2 separate regions of the Homo sapiens genome follow, and region 2 is linked to region 1. The links are contacts of gene promoters, found by promoter capture Hi-C in blood cells and fetal thymus (Javierre and others, 2016). All regions are on one chromosome and are shown on one strand. Each heading gives the region's core, a stretch centred on a gene start or on the middle of the fragment in contact. The rest is flanking DNA. Distances are from core to core; before and after follow the strand shown. Region 1 holds the start of PEX11G (peroxisomal biogenesis factor 11 gamma). Region 2 overlaps INSR (insulin receptor).

Region 1 (6,215 bases), core at 2,183-4,682:
CCTCAGCCTCCCAAAGTGCTGGGATTACAGGCATGAGCCACTGCACCCAGCCGAGACAGGGTTTTACCATGTTGGCCTGGCTGGTCTCGAACTCCTGACCTCATGATCCGCCAGCCTTGGCCTCACAAAGTGCTGGGATTACAAGCATGAGCCACTGTGAGGGGCCAAAAAATTTTTTAAAAAATGTCCACTCAGGTCCGCACCCTACTCCCTAGAGCCCCACAAACCCTGTTACCTGTGCCCCCAGGCCATATTGCTTAGTGTAGACAAACATGGCCAGGTCATCAAAGAGTCGCAAGATGGTCCTGCAGTGGCTGAGTTGGGTGGACACCACCAACAGACGTGTCCCCACTTCGGACCTGGCGGGACACTGTTCAACCAGAACTCCACCAACCAGCTGGCAGCAGTACCCCAGCACTCGGATCTGTGGGAAACCAGAAGCAGTCAGTGTGGCCCTCCTGTTCTGCAGAACTGAGCTGCATCCCCCCATACCTGGCCCCGGGCCCCGCTGGATTGAGAGTGTGGAAGATTCTCTTTTTTTTTTGAAAGAGTCTCACTCTGTCATCCAGACTGGAGTGCAGTGGCACGATCTCGGCTCACCGCAGCCTCCATCTCCCATGTTCAAGCAATTCTTGTGCCTCAGCCTCCCCAGTAGCTGGGATTACAGGCGCCCACCACCACACCCTGCTAATTTTTATATTTTTTGTAGAGACAGGGTTTCACCAGGTTGGCTAGGCTGGTCTCAAACTCATAACCTCAGTGATCCACCTGCCTTAGCCTCCCAAAGTGCTGGGATTACAGGCATGAGCCACCGTGCCTGACCCAAGAGTTTGGAAGATTCTAAATCTACAAAGTGACAGTAAAAGCTGAAAGTTTAGGTGGGGCACAGTGGCTCACACCTGTAACCCCAGCACTTTGAGAAACCGAGGTGAGAGGATGCCTTCACACCAGGAGTTTGAGACCAGCCTGGGCAACATAGCAAGACCCTGTGTCTACCAAAAAAATTTTTTTTTTTGAGACGGAGTCTTGCTCCGTCACCTAGGCTGGAGTGCGGTGGCGCGATCTCGGCTCACTGCAAGCTCCACCTCCCGGGTTCATGCGATTCTCCTGCCTCAGCCTCCCGAGTAGCTGGGACTACAGGCACCCGCCACCAAGCCCACCTAATTTTTTGTATTTTTAGTAGAGATGGGGTTTCACCATTTTAGCCAGGATGGTCTTGATCTCCTGACCTCATGATCCACCCGCCTCGGCCTCCCAAAGTGCTGGGATTACAGGCGTAAGCCACCGCGCCTGGCTACCAAAAATTTTTTTAAGTTAACAGGGCATGGTGGTTACTTGGGAGGCTGATGCTGGAGGATCACTTGAGCCCAGGAGTTCCAGACTGTAGTGAGCTGTAATCGTGCTACTACACTCCAGCCTGGGCAACAGGGCGAGACCCTGTCTAAAAAAAGAAAAAGAAAAAGAAAAAAAAAGCTGGAAGTTTAAAAACATACTTGGAGGTGGGACAAATGAAGAAACATGACATCATTGATGTAACTGAAGGGCACAGCCTTTGGGAACAGATGTGACAGGAACAAAGAAAACAAAGCTCCTTACTTCCCACCTCCTAGGTCCTTCTTTTCCCAGGTGGCAGGAAGCCACAGCTAAAGTGTATATTTACATCTACCTGCCTGGACCAAAGCCTTTGGATGTGCTGAATGGTGGGCACAGGTGATCAGGCCTCAACCCAGTGAACAACAGGATAATTTGGTAGAATTACTTTAGAGAGAAAGAACCTACTCAGTAGGTGATGTGGAGCCTTCTGAAATAGGTCATCTTCACTACTCAGATCTTTTTTCTTTTGGAGACAGAGTCTTGCTCTGCTCCCCAGGCTCGAGTGCAAAGGTGTGAGCTCACTGCAACCTCTGCATCCCAGGTTCAAGCAATTCTCCCGCCTCAGCCTTCCAAGTAGCTGGGACTACAGGCACGCACCACCACATCCGGCTAATTTTTGTATTTTAGTAGAGACGAGGTTTCATCACTTTTCCCAGGCTGGTCTCAAACTCCTGAGCTCAGACAATCCACCCAGCTCAGCCTCCCAAAGTGCTAGGATCACAGGCGCGAGCCACCACGCCTGGCCTCCCTTATATCTTTATTTTACCTGCTTTTCAGAAATTGCTTGTTCCTGTTGTTTTATTTATTTTTACTTGTAATTCCTTTCCAGCCCCATTATAATGGCAAAACACTGCAATCTGAATGTTCAACTCGGGGGAGATTTGTTAACCCACCCCCCCAATCATAAGATATTTGAATGGAATCTAAATGCCTAGCCACCAGTACACCGCCTGGTACAACCTGAATGTCTACCTATAAGAGACTGGTGGGGACAAGCTAAGAGTCCAGACTCAGGGGCATGGATGGCATAACCTAAATGTTCAACCATATGGGACTTGATTGGAACTAAAAACTGTCCAGCCATAGGGAGAGTCTTGCAATATCCTAAATCCCCACATGAGATTGTTTGGGACAACCCAGGGACCAACTACAGTGGCCCGGTCAGATCCTAAATGTCCAAACATGGGAATCTGTTTGGTATGTAAACGTCCAGCCAGGCTGGGTTGGCAGAGACGATCTAAATGACCAACTGGGGTTTTGTTGGAACCCATCGCTGCTTAGGCATGGCAGGGCCCAGGCCATGGCGTGTTCTTTGGTCTAGGTTGGCTGAAACAACCTAAATGCCCAACTATAGGGAATCTGGTTGGAAGTGAATGTCCAGCCACAGGGGAGCCCTGCAACATCCCAAATCCCAACACGAGATTGTTCAGGACAACTTCAGTGGCCTGGTCGGATCCAAAACGTCCAAACACGGGAATCTGGCCAGTGTGTCAATGTCCAGACAGGTTGGGTTGGCAGAAACTATCTAAATGTCCAACGCTGGCCAGACGCGGTGGCTCACGCCTGTAATCCCAGCACTTTGGGAGGCCGAGGCAGGTGGATCGCTTGAGGCCAGGAGATCGAGACCATCCTGGCTAACACGATGAAACTCCGTCTCTACTAAAAATACAAAAAAATAGCAGGGAGTGGTGGCGGGCGCCTGTAGTCCCAGCTACTCGGGAGTGCTGAGGCAGGAGAATCGCTTGAACCCGGGAAGCGGAGGCTGCAGTGAGCAGAGATCGCACCACTGCACTCCAGCCAAAATAAATAAATACATAAATGTCCAATGCTAGGGCACCGCATTTGAGCCTAGCTCGGACGGGGCCTCTGCGACGGAGTATCCTGGGCGACCCCGTCCCCTCTCTGGCCCGTTTCCCAGTCTCTGAGCTTGGGCCAAACTCTAGGACCTCCGGCCCCGGTCCGCCCCTGCCTCACCAGGCGGTCCCGGCCCCTGTACGACTCCAGCGCCGACGCCAGGCCGCTCAGCGACGCCATGGCAACTCCGTGACGTCACCGCGACGTCGGCGCGCCGCGCCAGGGGGCGGGGCCAGGCCGGGGTACCGGGAGCGCCCCAAAGGCTTGCGCGCAGGCGCGGCCGCAGGCCTTTGTCCCCCTGACCGGCTTTTTGTCCGCTGTAGGGGAGGGACAGAGTTTGCAGAGGTGGGGCCGACACGTGTGTGCTCTCCAGGCCTGCAGACCCTGGATCATCCTCGGAGTTTGCTGCATTCTGCCCCACGGCGGTTTGGCCAACTACCCACGCACAAAAAAATATATTTCTAAGTTTAACCAACTACCCACACGCTCCAAAAATATTCCAAGCAAAACCACCAACCTGTTCGCAGTGGTTCAAGGAGAGATTTTCCTTTTTAGTTTTTGTGCTTCACCTTTTCTGCACTGTCTGCCTGCCCGTAGTGAGCAGGAATGACTGCTGTAATATCACAACAAGGCATCTTTCGACGTTAAGGAAAGACGTTATCTTTGGACGTTAAGAATTGTTCTAGAATACATAAATAAAAAATAAAAATGCACAATTCAGTGACATTAGTACATGCACATGTTGGACAACCATCACCCCTTGCTAGTTTCGGGGTATTTTTATCACCCCCAAGAGAGACCCCCGTAGGAGACCAGCATATGCCCCTCTGAAATATGCGACCTTGGTGTAGGATTATTTTGAGCTGAGATCAATGAAGCTGATACCGGAAAAGCTCTCTGTTCTTCCCTGATTTGCCTCAAAGCAGGACCTAAAGGTACAAAGGTGCCCTCCTCCCCTCTCTACCAGGAAGGACAAAGGTTGATCACCAGGGACACCTTTAGACTCTTGTCTGGAGACGTCTTTTTTTTTTTTTTCTTTTTTTTTGAGACGGAGTCTTGCTCTGTCCCCAAAGCTAGAGTGCAGTAGCGCCATCTCTGCTCACTGCGTCCTCCGCTTCCCTGGTTCAAGCGATTCTCGTGCCTCAGCTTCCCAAGTAGCTGGGATCACAGCTGTGCACCACTGTGCCCGGCTAATTTTTGTATTTTTGGTAGAGTCGGGGTTTCACCACGTTGGCCAGGCTGTTCTCAAATTCCTGGCCTCAAGTGATCCGCCCGCCTCGGCCTCCCAAAGTGCTGGGATTACAAGCGTGAGCCACCGCACCCGGCCTCAATGTCCTTTTCCTTCGTCTTGTCACTTCTCCAAAAATTTGCTGCTATATGTTGAAGGTGCTATATAAGCAGGAGTTATATAAGCTATATAAGCCACCTCATTTCTCTTGGCATCTCCCATGTACACATAAGGTACACATGTTAATAAATTTGTTTTTCCCTTGTTAATTTTTTTTTTTTAGACGGAGCCTCGCTCTGTCGCCCAGGCTGGAGTGCAGTGGCACGATCTCGGCTCACTGCAAGCTCCGCCTCGCGGGTTCACGCCATTCTTCTGCCTCAGCCTCCCGAGTAGCTGGCACTACTACAGGCGCCCGCCACCACGCCTGGGTAATTTTTTTTTTTTTTTTTTTTTTGTATTTTTAGTAGAGACGGGGTTTCACCGTGTTAGCCAGGATGGTCTTGATCTCCTGACCTCGTGATCCGCCCGTCTCTGCCTCCCAAAGTGCTAGGATTACAGGCGTGAGCCACCGCGCCTGGCCTCTATTTTTTTTTTTTTTTTTTTTTTTTTTTTTTGAGACAGGGCCTCGCTCTGGGAGGAACCAAATTTGTAGATGTGAAGCCGCCACTTGTGTGCTCTCTGGGCCTGAGGACCCAGGATGATGCCCAGAGCTTGCTACATTCTGCCCCATGGTAGCTTGACCAACTACCCACAAAAAAGGGGTAGAGTGCAGCGGCACGATCTTAACTCACTGCAGCCTTGAACTCCTGGGATCAAGCCATCCTGCCACCTCAGCATCCTGAGTAGGTGGGACCACAGGTGCCTGCCACCACAATTGGCTAATTTCTTTTTATTTTTTATTTTTTGTAGAAATGGAGTCTTACCATGTTACCCAGGCTGGCCTTGAGCCCTGGGCTTAAGCAATCTTCCCACGTCGACCTTCCAAAGTGCTGGAATTACAGGCGTGAACCACCGCACCCGCCCTTCTTAATTCTTTCATTGCAAGGATCCATCACAGCTAAGAACTAAGAATAAAGGAAAAAGTATGTTTCCTCCCCTACACCCTGTTCCCATAAAGCAATCACTCAATTCCTCCCTCCTCCCAGCCCCTGGCAACCACTAATCTGCATTCTCTGCTGTCTCTCTGTATTTTTACCACTTCTTGATTTTTTTTTTTTTTTTTTTTTTTTGAGACAGAGTCTCACTCTGTCACCCAGACTGGAGTGCAGTGGCATGATCTCAGCTCACGGCAGCCTCCGCCTCCCAAGTTCAAGCAATTCTCCTGCCTCGGCCTCCCAAGTGGCTGAGAGTACAGGTGCGCACCACCACACCCGGCTAATTTTTGTATTTGTAGTAGAGATGGATTTTACCATGTTGGCCAGGCTGGTCTTGAACTCTTGACCTCAAGGGATCTGCCTGCCTCGACCTCCCAAAGTGCTGGGATTACAGGCATGAGCCACCATGCCCGACCTCCTTGATATTTCATACAAATGGAATCATACAATATGTGACCATTTGTGTCGGCCTCTTCCACCAAGCATAATAGGTTGTTTTGGTTTTTGCTTTTTGTTTTTGAGACAGGGTCTTGCTGTGTCACCAGGCTGGAGTGCGGTGGTGTGATCATAGCTCACTGCAGCCTTGAACTCCTGGGCCTGAGAGATCCTCCTGCCTCAGCCTCCACATTGCCTGGGACTACAGGTGCACGCCACCACATCTGGCC
Region 2 (6,215 bases), core at 1,481-3,980, 340 kb before region 1:
CAGCCAGGGTCAGTGACAAAAATAAGACACCAAAAGCACGTAAGAGTCTAGCTTTTCAGGAAGCCCTGCCAAATGGCATTTGCTCATTGGCCCAAGCTACTGATCGACATCATCAGTTTAAATAGGAAAAAATACATCTTTTCCTTCTTATTGCTGCTTAGGGCACCTGTATAATTTGAGTGATTAAGCTGCAATTCTTAGAAAAGGAATCACATCACTCAGGTCAGGAAGATTAACTCCAAGAAACATCTATGCAATTGGCACACTTCTCCCCATCCCTTAAGAAGACATATTAAACAACAAAGGTTGATAGCTAACAAATTTTAAAATACAAAGAAAAAAGGATAAAGAAGAAAATGTAGGCTGGGCGAGGTGGCTCATGCCTATAATCCCAGTACTTTGGGAGGCCAAGGCGGGCAGATAACCTGAGGTTAGGAGTTCAAGACCAGTCTGGCCAACATGGGGAAACCCCGTCTCTACTAAAAATACAAAAATTAGCCGAGCCTGATGGTGCACAGCTTTAATCCCAGCTACTCAGGAGGCTGAGGCAAGAGAATTGCTTGAACCCGGGAGGCGGAGGTTGCAGTGAGCTGAGATCGTGTCACTGCACTCCAGCCTGGGCGACAGAGTGAGACTCTGTCTCAAAAAAAAAAAAAAGAAAAGAAAATATAAATCACTCATAAATCCACAGCCCACTGCTTCCTTTGGACAATTTTTTCCCTGTAAATATTATGTGTGAACATGATGAGGATCAAGCCTGTTTTATAAGTAAACTTTGTCTACTTATTATATTGGAAGCATTTACTAAATATTTTCCTTTCAACATAACATTTTAGGAGAGAATTTTGGGACTTTTCCTTTTTAATATTAGGGTTTTCCTCCATCATCTACAAAAGTAGCATGTGTTCCCTGCAGAAAACTTGGAAAACGATGAATGACTGTAAAATATTCCATTTGCTACGTGAGTCGTCACTCACTTAACCATCCTCCTTATTTATTTATTTATTTTGAGACAGAGTTTCACTCTTGTCGCCCAGGCTGGAGTGCGACGGCGTGATCTTGGCTCACTGCAACCTCCGCCTCCTGAGTTCATGCGATTCTCCTGCCTCAGCCTCCTGAGTAGCTGGGATTACAGGAGTCCGCCACCATGCCCAGCTAATTTTTGTATTTTTAGTAGAGACGGAGTTTCGCCATGTTGGCCAGGCTGGTCTCAAACTCCTGACCTCAGGTGATCTGCCCACCTCAGCCTCCCAAAGTGCCAGGATTACAGGCATGAGCCACCGCACATGGCTCTTTTTTTTTTTTTTTGCTGTTATAAATATTCCTTTGATCATTGTCTGATTGTCTTATTACTTCCCCAAAGTAGATTCCTAGAGGAAAATATTACTAGGTTCAGGGAGATAAGAAACTCTTTAAGCTTCTTAATACCTACAGCTAAATGGTTGTCCAGAAACTCTATATTGACTTGTGGTTGCACCAGCAGGCCATGAGACTGCATTCCAGGACAATCTCAGCAACCCCTAAGCCTTAATAGTTTTTTTTTTTCTTTCTATGTTTGTTTGTCTAGATCTTTAACCCAAGAGATTAAAAATATGCTATCACTCGACTACGTTATTTGCGGATCTTTATATTACTGAGTGTGACTTCATTTTTCCTTTATTGGTTCTCTGTGATTCTCCAAAGAATTGTCCCCTCCTTGTCTTTTGTCTGTTTTTCCATGAATTTCTTGTGTTTTCCTTACTCCTGTGTTGTTTATTCATTAAGGATATTAACCTTTTATGTATCGTGCTATACAACTTACTCTTTTCCATTTGCCAGTAAGCTTTCTTTAAATGATTTGAAACAGGCTTTCATGTTTATTTGTACAATTTAATATATCAGTAACACTTTAAAACGTGTTCCTTTATAAGTCATTCTAGATGGGGTTATTATGAGTTGTGCTAAGGTTTTACGGCAATTTTGAAAGGGATCTTTTCCCTTATTTTATATTCTAATTATTGCTTGTGTATCTACAGTCTTTTTGCTTATTTCTATGTACCTACTTTCCCAAACTCTAACTCATTTAAAAAGTTTCATAATTGGCTTTCCTGGGTTTTCAATGACACACTAGAAGAGGGGTCAACAAAATTTTCCCGTAAAGGGCTAGATAATAAATATTTTGGGTTTTGCAAGCCAAATGACCTCTGTCACAACTACTCTGTCATTGTAGCTTAAAGCAGCCCTACATGATGTGTAAACAAGTGGGTGGGGTTGCATTCCAATAAGAGTTCATTTACAAAAACAGGCAGCTAGCCCATGGGCCATAGTTTGCCTACCCTTGAGCTAGACGCTCTGCAAATAGCAATGACTTTATTTCCCACATTCCATTCTTTACAACTCTGATTTCTGTTTCTTGTCTTATTACATTGGCTGGATGCCCAGAGAAATGTTAATTAGTAATGATGAGATGGGGCTTCCTTGTTTTGTTCCTAACTCTGCTAAGAATAATTTTAAGAATGATGTTAGCTTGGCTGTTGGTTTAACCTAGGTAATATTTATCTTGTAGAAGAAATATTCTATTATGAGTTTTATGAAGCCTCTTTTTTTCCTCCCCTTTCTCTAAGTTAGGAATTTTAAATTAAGGTTATTGAAACAGATATGATCTTCCTTATTGCACCTCTTGATGAACTAGATGATGTTATCAAATCTTCTGATCTTAAACCATCCTTGCATTTTGGAGATAAACAATATTGCCAGTGCAGTGTTTTATTTGGGACATTTGAATCTAACATCACATATTAGCTTGGCCTGTGGCTTTTGTTCAGTGCAGTATCTTTGTCAAGTTCTTTTTTTTTTTTTTTTTTTTTTGAGACAGAGTTTTGCTCTGTTGCCAGGCTGGAGTGTGCAATGGCGCAACCTCGGTTCACTGCAACCTCTGCCTCCCAGGTTCAAGCGATTCTCCTGGCTCAGCCTCCCAAGTAGCTGGGATTACAGGCGTGTGCCACCATGTCTGGCTAATTTTTGTATTGTTAGTAGAGACAGTGTTTCACCATGTTGACCAGAATGTTCTCAATCTCTTGACCTTGTGATCCGCCCCCCACCTCAGCCTCCCAAAGTACTGGGATTACAGGCATGAGCCACCATGCTCAACCTCTTTGTCAAGTTCTTTAAGGGTGTTATGTTCATTTCATAAAATGAACTGGGATAACTTTTATAGATTTCTGTGCCCTAAAATAGTTTTTCTATTATAGGAAATAGTTGCTCTCTCACAATTTGAAAGAACGTGTCTATAAAACTCTCTGGGCCAAGGGACTTTTTTGAGGAAATTATTTGACACATATCTTTTTCCAAGGTTCATAACCACTTAATTTTTCTGCTTCTTTTTGAATCCATTTAGACAAGTTAAATTTTCCCACCTTACTGAAACTTTCAAATTTAGCAAGTGCACCATTGTCCAAAGAACTTAACACATTAAAATTTTCTTCAGACGCTAGTTTTATGTCATCTTCTTTCCTTCTGGTTTGTGTTTTCCCTTTGATTATGTTTACCATAGGCTTAGCTGTTATTGCTTTTCCCTTCCTAACACATTTATAGTTTTATAGTTTAAAGTTTATTTCTTAATTTATCAATCCATTTAAGTCTGCTAAGTAACATCAAAGCCAAGCTTTGACAATATTCTACAAGTTAAGGTATGTGATATTCACATTTTCATTATTTTCCAAAAGGACTTCAATGGAAGTTTCCATTTCTGCTTTGGCCCGATAGATATGTAAGTGTTTAACTTTTTAACTTTTTTTTTTTTTAGACAGAGTCTCGCTCTGTTGCCCAGGCTGGAGGGCAGTGGCGTGATCTCGGCTCACTGCAACCTCCACCTCCCAGGTTCAAGTGATTCTTCTGCCTCAGTCTCCTGAGTAGCTGGGACTACAGGCGCACGTTACCACATCTGGCTAATTTTTGTATTTTTAGTAGAGAAGGGGTTTCACCATATTGGCCAGGCTGGTCTCAAACTCCTGACCTCAGGTGATCCGCCTGCCTGGGCCTCCCAAAGTGCTGCGATTACAGGTGTGAGTCACTGCGCCCAGCCTGTAAGTGTTTAACTTTTAACCACCAAGAAGTGAAGTTTTCTGTTTAATCTTTTGAAATTAACTTTTAGTTTCTATTGCAGCGTCATCAGAAAATGTGTGGTCAGAAAACAAATCCTACTTTGGGGGCATTTCTTAAGATTCTCTTTATGGTCTTTTTGTATTAAAAGACTAACAACATTGTAGAATGGAAAAGAAAACAGCTCCACCACTTATCAAGCCAAAGATATGTCCGTATTAGCAAGATTCAGATAATTTCTATACAGGCACAAATGGGTCTCGTGAAAATAACCAAGACGTTGGTGCTTCATGAGTAACTACTGAGAAATTGGTATCTCAACAACCAGAGATGTAAAATGGGCTCATCAAACAGGCCAAATGAGTTTATATACCAAAAAGATTATAACCAAAAAGACCATGAAGTGGCAAAAGACAAAGCATCAACTGATTTTTTTTTTTGAGACAGAGTCTTGCTCTGTTGCCCAGGCTGGAGTGCAGTGGTGTGATCTTGGCTCACTGTAACTTCCAATTTCTGGGTTCAAGCGATTCTCCTGCCTCAGCCTCCCAAGTAGCTGGGATTACAGGCGTGCATCATCATGCCCGGCTAATTTTTGTATTTTTAGTAGAGACGGGGTTTCGCCATGTTGCCCAGGCTGGTTTCAAACTCTTGACCTCAGGTGATCTGCCTGCCTGGGCCTCCCAAAGTGCTGGGATTACAGGCATCAGGCATGAGCCACAGCACCTGGCCTAGGCAGCATTTTATTATCCAGCAATCCCACACTAACCTGGTCATCTCAACCAAGGGTCCTTCTGACCCCATCACCCAGGGGGATATTTAGCAATGTCTGAAGATATTTTTGGTTATTACTACTTTAGGGGGAAGACACACTACTGGCATCAGATGAGTGGAAGCCAGGGATGCTTCTCAGTGTTGTTGGACAGTGCCCTAGAATAATCTGACCCCAAATATTATTTATTATTATTATTAGTATTATGTATTTATTCTTTTTTTTTTTTTTTTTTGAGACAGAGTCTCGCTCTGTCACCCAGGCTGGAATGCAGTGGCGAGATCTCGGCTCACCGCAACCTCCGCCTCCAGAAATCAAGTGATTCTCCTGCCTCGGCCTCCCAAGTAGCTGGGACTACAGGCGTGTGTCACCATGCCCGGCTAATTTTTATATTTCTTGTAGTAACGGGGTTTCACCATCTTGGTCAGGCTGGTCTCGAACTCCTGGCCTCAAGTGATTGCCCCGCCTGGGCCTCTCAAAGTGTTGGGATTACAGGCGTGAGCTACCAAGTCCAGCTGTGGCCCCAAATATTATTTTATTTTTATTTTTTTTGAGACGGAGTCTCGCTCTGTGGCCCAGGCTGGAGTGCAGTGGCACGATCTTGGCTCACTGCAAGCTCCGCGTCCCAGGTTCACGCCATTCTCCTGCCTCAGCCTCCCGAGTAGCTGGGACTACAGGCGTGTGTCACCACGCCCGGCTAATTTTTATGTTTCTTGTAGTAACGGGGTTTCACCATCTTGGTCAGGCTGGTCTCGAACTCCTGGCCTCAAGTGATTGCCCCGCCTGGGGTAGCTGCGTCACCACGCCCAGCTAATTTCTTGTATTTTTAGTAGTGACGGGGTTTCACCGTGTTAGCCAGGATGGTCTCGATCTTCTGATCTCATGATCCGCCCGCCTCGGCCTCCCAAAGTGCTGGGATTACAGGCGTGAGCCACCCGAATATTATTAATAGCAGGACTGAGATTGAGATCTGCTTTGGACCAAGCCCGTACATTTTTAGACCCTTCTTGGCTACAGTTAGTATTGCAAATGGCCACTAGAGGGCAGATCAGGCCACACAGGTGCCTGGGAAAAAATAAATAAATAAACACTCTGCTAAAGGAAGAAAATCTCTCCAAGTGGTCCCAACTTGCCTCTTTAGTCTCACCTCCTGTTCCTCCCAAAAGCCACGACAGGTAAACATCTCCTTGCCTTTCTCCCAAGTTCTCCAAGCTTTTTCTCTCTCCCAGGACCATACTGCTTCATTCTCTTAAGACTCAAGTTGAAAAGAAACGTCCCTGGCCAGGGGCGGTGGCTCACGCCTGTAATTCCAGCACTTTGGGAGGCCGAGGCGGGCGGATCGCCTGAGGTCGGGAGATCGAGACCA

The links. Contacts are between HindIII fragments. The CHiCAGO score rates a contact against its expected background, and 5 or more counts as called.
Region 2: a fragment that was not itself captured here is called in contact with the fragment with the promoter of PEX11G in region 1 in 10 of 17 cell types (megakaryocytes, naive CD4 T cells, naive B cells and 7 more); the score reaches 6.4 in megakaryocytes.

What each region holds. Positions count from the first base shown.
Region 1 is chr19:7,485,603-7,491,817 of GRCh38, forward strand. It overlaps PEX11G (peroxisomal biogenesis factor 11 gamma), which reads right to left and starts at 3,433. Exons shown (of 5, transcript NM_080662.4): 1 at 3,349-3,433; 2 at 236-424. The coding sequence starts at 3,408. RefSeq lists silencers at 3,180-3,239, 3,290-3,619. The HindIII fragment of the contact is 16,201 bases long and covers 1-6,215 here.
Region 2 is chr19:7,143,412-7,149,626 of GRCh38, forward strand. The region is part of intron 11 of INSR (insulin receptor); the gene reads right to left. Among named protein-coding and RNA genes, the nearest start is that of ZNF557, 77 kb to the left of the region's middle. The HindIII fragment of the contact is 1,821 bases long and covers 1,821-3,641 here.